Linked DNA regions of Homo sapiens: region 1 is linked to region 2. Evidence: promoter capture Hi-C in 16 types of primary human blood cells and fetal thymus (Javierre and others, 2016). All regions are on one chromosome and are shown on one strand. Each heading gives the region's core, a stretch centred on a gene start or on the middle of the fragment in contact. The rest is flanking DNA. Distances are from core to core; before and after follow the strand shown. Region 1 overlaps LOC124900988 (a long non-coding RNA gene). Region 2 holds the start of CD180 (CD180 molecule).

The links. The method cuts DNA at HindIII sites, captures the fragments that hold promoters and counts their contacts. A CHiCAGO score of 5 or more calls a contact.
Region 1: a contact is called between a fragment that was not itself captured here and the fragment with the promoter of CD180 in region 2, in 1 of 17 cell types (megakaryocytes). The highest score is 5.2, in megakaryocytes.

The regions. Positions count from the first base shown.
Region 1 is chr5:66,300,582-66,303,407 of GRCh38, reverse strand. The region is part of intron 1 of LOC124900988 (a long non-coding RNA gene); the gene reads right to left. Among named protein-coding and RNA genes, the nearest start is that of LINC02065, 93 kb to the right of the region's middle. The HindIII fragment of the contact is 2,316 bases long and covers 290-2,605 here.
Region 2 is chr5:67,195,541-67,198,308 of GRCh38, reverse strand. It overlaps CD180 (CD180 molecule), which reads left to right and starts at 1,510. Exons shown (of 3, transcript NM_005582.3): 1 at 1,510-1,757. The coding sequence starts at 1,668. RefSeq lists an enhancer at 2,537-2,686. The HindIII fragment of the contact is 10,485 bases long and covers 1-2,768 here.

The sequences.
Region 1 (2,826 bases), core at 198-2,697, 890 kb after region 2:
CATGCCGATGCACCTAATGCACACATCTTCATGATGTGGGAAGAAACCAGAGTACACAGAGAAAACCCACACAGACATGGGGGACCATGCAAACTCCACATAGACAATGGCCCCAGCTGGGAAGCAATTTTTTTTCTCATCAATGTTATAACAAAATGATGCTGAATGAAATGACATTATCTGAGGACCTGCTGTGGTATAGCTTAAGAAAAATCAGTAGAGCAACCAGTGTCAGCCCAAGTTCATCACATAACATTGACTGACAATTCTGTCACCTTTTGACAAAGCTTGTGTAACAGCTAACATCCTGATGAGTAGAAGGGCAGAGGCTGTCAAGAGGAGTTCAGCTTCAAATTTCTATCACTGTACATTGTCCTATAATTTCTTCCCTAGCTTTAGTCACTACAGTATATTGATATGTCCATCAGTCCCCTGGTTGGTTGCCTTTAAAAAAAAAAAAAGACAATGATGTTAACAATTCTTAACCATAGGTGCGAGGCTCCACAAAGCTGTCACACTGAACCTGAAAGCTAAGAGAACACAAACAGGCAAGTCTGGGCCCCCTTTGGGAATGATCTTAGACTTGGGCAAGATTGCTGGCTGGGTCGGTGTTCGGTGTTCGCTCAGGAAAATGAAACCCCTGGGGATATTTTGATGAGAAAAGGATGTAAACAGACGCTTAGTTATAGAAGTGGTAGAAGGCCTGGAAGAACATACGAGAAAGAAAAGATTTGGTTTGGGCATAGGAGCACCAAGGCGAAGGGGGTTACCCAACCGTCTGCAAGCGGCTGCTGCCTGTGGACAAGAACTTGCACGTGGCGCTCCTGCTGGAGAAGGCACTGCTGCTGCCCATGGGGAACCAAGGAGCCTACAGGCCCGCTGGTGCCACCAAAGCCGCCATGATGCAGTTGCCCACGGCCGCCCTTAGCCACTCACTGCTGCCAGCGGCCTCCCTAAGTCTCCCCACCTGCTCCCAGTGAATGCCCTCCACTGTGGGAGCACTGGCAGACCTAACAGGAAGGGAGGGTGGTTTGCAGATTTCAAGCCCCCAGGGAAGAGAAGAGAGCATGGAAGGCTGAGTGTGGAGCTTTTCTGCCCCTGCCACCAAGGTCAAGGTCATATGGAACACATGATGCCTTTGAGAATAACAAAGGTGTGTAATGTTCAAGATTATTTCATGTATTTGTTCAAGAAACTCCTATAATCCAATAGAGGAGCTCAGAGAAGTATAAGGAGGCAAGAGTCAGATTATACAGATAACCCCTGCAAGGGCAAGATACCACAGTCCATCACTTACTGTTTGGTGGTCTCACATTCACATGGAGTCAAAGGACAACTCACAGGAGTTTGTCCCTTTTCCCCTTGCCTTGCCTGCCAGTTCACACACAGGCCACATCTTTCTTCCTTACATTTGCTTTGTTCTTCCTTCCATTTTCTCCCCATTACCCAACCCCCCACCTTTTTATGTTTTTTGCTTGTTTGTTTGTTTGTTTGTTTGAGATGGAGTCTCTCTGTGTCACCCAGGCTGGAGTGCAGTGGTGAGATCTCAGCTCATTGCAACCTCCACCTCCAGAGTTCAAGCGATTCTCATGCCTCAGCCTCTGGAGTAGCTGGGACTACAGGCATGCGCCACCATGCCAGGCTAATTTTAACATTTTTGTAGAGACAGAGTTTTGCCGTGCTGCCCAGGCTGGTCATGAACTCCTGACCACAGGTGATCTACCCACCTCGGCCTCCCAAAGTGCTGGGATTACAGGTGTAAGCCACCGTGCCCAGCCCCCTCAGTGTTTTTAACCAATCTCCTGATGCCTCCCGAGTGGACCCCCTCAATGAAGCCAGAGGGACTAGTTGGTTCTTTTGAGCCTCCCCAGCAAACAAATCAAATAAATGTTCCTCTTGTTACTATTTACCATGCTTGCCACAAAAGCACAAAGTATTACTATGCTAACAGAGTTCCTGTCTTTTCTCCTCATCTTCCTGAGACCACTGTATTAGTCTTGTTCACACTGCTTTAAAGACATACCTGAGACTGGGTAATTTATAAAGAAAGGAGGTTTAATTGACTCAGAGTTCTGCGTGGCTGGGGAGACCTCAGGAAACTTACAATCATGGCAGAAGGTGAAGTAGGCACGTCTTACGTGGCGGAAGTTGAGAGAGAGCAAGCAAGAGCAGGGAAAACTGCCTTATAACGCCGTCAGATCTCATGAGAACTCACTCACTATCAGGAGAACAGCATGGGGGAACTGCCCCCATGATCTAATCACCTGCCACTAGTTCCCTCATTCGACACATAAGGATTATGAGCATTAAAATTAAAGATGAGATTTGGGTGAAGAGGCAGCCAAACTATATCAACCACCTTTCAAGGAATAAGGAAGAACATCCTGGAGAAGTTTACCAGACCTCGTTTGGAAAGATGTCAAGAGCATACATGGAAGCTCCAAATTATACGTCGGGCTTGCGAATGTGCTGCTTTGAGGGTTCCAGAACCTGCCTCCATGGAAGAATCCCACTCCTCCCCACCCTTACACAAATACCATGTCCCTAATCAGCAATGAGTTCCAACCAAAGAAAATTCTCTCTTCCTGATTTCTGTACAGAAGCTTAGGAATTCAAGCCAAGGAATTTAAGTTGTGTTTTTAAAGGATTATATCTATGGAGATGAATACTAAAGCCAATGTGTAGGTGATTGTGAATATTTCATTCAAACCCAAAATCTCTTCCAGTGGTCAACAGCAAGGGCTATAAAATGCAAGCATGATATCTTCCCTGCTTATTTCACCTCTAAGCAGTAAGGGAAACACCTTGCAGAAATAAAACACTCCT
Region 2 (2,768 bases), core at 261-2,760:
GTCTTATTTGAAGCAAGGTGGTCCGTCATTGGTCTGGGTTTGCTTAGACTGTGTCTTGCTGATAGCATCTTCAGAGATGATTTTGTTGATGAAGATGGCATTTTAAGGGTGACCAGGAAAAGCCCAAATATGTGTAGCAGGCCTAGCAGACTGCCAAGTACATATTTCCTCCAATCCCCTCTGCTTTTTAGCATCTTTTCTGAAATCTCCAGATGAACAACATTCTTCGCCCCATCTACTCTTCAGCTCCTTCAGGAGGCAAAGTCCTTTCTTAAACTGTGAAGAGTAGCAGCATAGTCTCTGCAGTGAGATTTTCTGGATCTGAAGCCCTAATCTACCACTCTCTAATTGTGTGGCTTGGAGAGATCATTTAATTTCTCTTAAGCATCAGTTTCTACATCTATAAAATGAGGGAAATAATAATATCTCTCTTATAGAATATATGGAAATATTCGAGGATAGGAAAATGCAGCAAAAAACTGCATTAAACCTGACCCAGTGTCTGACACATAGTAAGGACTCAATAAATGGCAGATACTATAGTCATTTGATTCATCATAGTAATACTGTAGAGGTGGTGGTGGTGGTGGTGGTGGTAGTAGTAGTAGTAGCAGTAGTTAAGTCATTGTGAACTCTGATACTAAGAACTGGGCTCTTGGAAATGGAGTGGGAGAACAGTAACACCAAATATATCCTGTATGCCAGAGGGTTGAAGAACAGACAGAACAGGTAGCTAAATGCAGCCTATTGAGGAATGTTTGAACTTTGGCTTTCTTTAATCATTGCCACATCTTGCTCCATAATAAGGGTAATTGTAATCCTGCTTCAAAGCTATTTCTAAGAAGAAATAGAGCCAAGGCTGGCATCCCTAACTCTACTCTCCTTTAGCCAGGCTGCTCTATCTATGGCAGTGTCCCCTACTTCCCCAGGCCAGGTTAGGAGGGAACAAGAGAGTCCACCCCAACTGCTTTAACAAGCCTGAACCGCCAGGTCAAGAGATGAAGTAATCTTCCCCCTATACGAAGACCAGAGGTGGGGATGGACAAGGTGGCCAAGGCAGCAGCTGAGGCTCAAGGAGCAGATACACTCTCAAGCCTGCTCCCTCCTGCTCCAGTTCCCAGCTCAGCAGGTGCCACTGAAGGGCTCAGTTCTTCAGTCTGCCCCTGCAGAGTGCTCTGCCCTTCCATGTTCTCTGACACCTCTTCTATTCACTCACCTAGGACAACTAAGAAAGTGGCCTCCTTGGTGAGTAGAGCTTCCACAGCCTCTCTCGGGGAAAAGGACCAGAAGCTGTTGGAGTTGGCCAAATGCTTGAAGTTGGCATAAAGTCAATTGGAACCATCACAATGAGAGTCTGTGTGATCAGCCCAAAAGGACTGCACAACTGATTCATGTTCAGTGCCAGGAAATGCAACGGGCCATTCTGGGGTTGGGTCCTCAGTTATTTTTGGCAAAGATGGGTGGTATGCAAAAGGGACTTCCTTTTTTTTTTTTTTTTTTTTTTCCAGCACAGAGCCACAGAATGCTGAGCAGTCAACAGCATTTCTTGTTCCAAGATCACCCTTCTGAGTACCTCTCTGGCTGCCAAATTGCCAGGGCCTTCACAGTTTGATTCCATTTCTCAGCTCCAAGCATTAGGTAAACCCACCAAGCAATCCTAGCCTGTGATGGCGTTTGACGTCAGCTGCTTCTTTTGGGTGGTGCTGTTTTCTGCCGGCTGTAAAGTCATCACCTCCTGGGATCAGATGTGCATTGAGGTGAGTCCAAACTGTTTGTCTTTATGCAGATTAAACTGTCTGAAAATTTTGAGATTTAGCACGCAGTCCAATCTGAGCCTTGGCATCCCAATATCTAGTGTCTTTAAAAAGGAAATAAGGTGTATATATAATTTTTTCATTATTGTGAGAAAGGAGCCAAAGAACTCTGCCAGGGGATCATCTGGTGGCATCTTAATAGGAAGCAAAGAGAATTTTTCTCCTCTTCAAACAATTCCACCCAAATAATCCCAAGTGGGTCATAAGATATTAATAGGGTCTGTGTGCACAAAGCAGACCCCTAAACCTGCCTCAACCTAGGGGAGCTGTTGGTTTAACATCCCCACTCTCACATGGCCTCTATCCCAATGAGTCCTTTGGTCTCCTCTCAGGGTGAGAATTAGTAAAGACAGCGCTGTGCCAGGTTTTCGAGCATTGAAAAGATCACTCTGAATGAGTCTGGCTCTCTCTTGGACTTGGACAGCCTTCCATCTGTTTTACTAACCCATAGGAGGAAAATCTGAGAATAGAGCCAAATTGCACCTTCTGTTTTGGACCATAGCAATATTTATCAACCTGTGGGAAGTTCTTGGAGGGGATAATGAGAGAAAAAGGAGAAGGGCCTCCGTCTCTTGCCATCCTCTAAAATGCTTCAAACTTCCTCCCACTTTCTCTGACCCCACAAGTGATCAATACCACGTGGCCTGTCAGACAAGGGCTGCATACAGGAGGAACCATGAGTCTTGGTGGCTTGGTGAGCTGCTGGTCTGGGTTGAGGTAAAAAGAAGAGTAAGAGCCAGGAATAGCCAGATGTGGAGTTGCCCTGGGGCAGGACTAGAAGGAGATCAGAGGATCAGGAAGAGCAGAGCAAAGCCAGCACTGGGGTAAGGCTCAGAGCTGGGTGAGCAGAGCCTTGTTGGTCTGGCATTAGGATGGAATCAGCAGCAGGCCAAGAGGAGGCATCATGCCAATGAGAAATGAAGGCTGGGAAGGTGTGTGTTGCTTTGCTTGGGC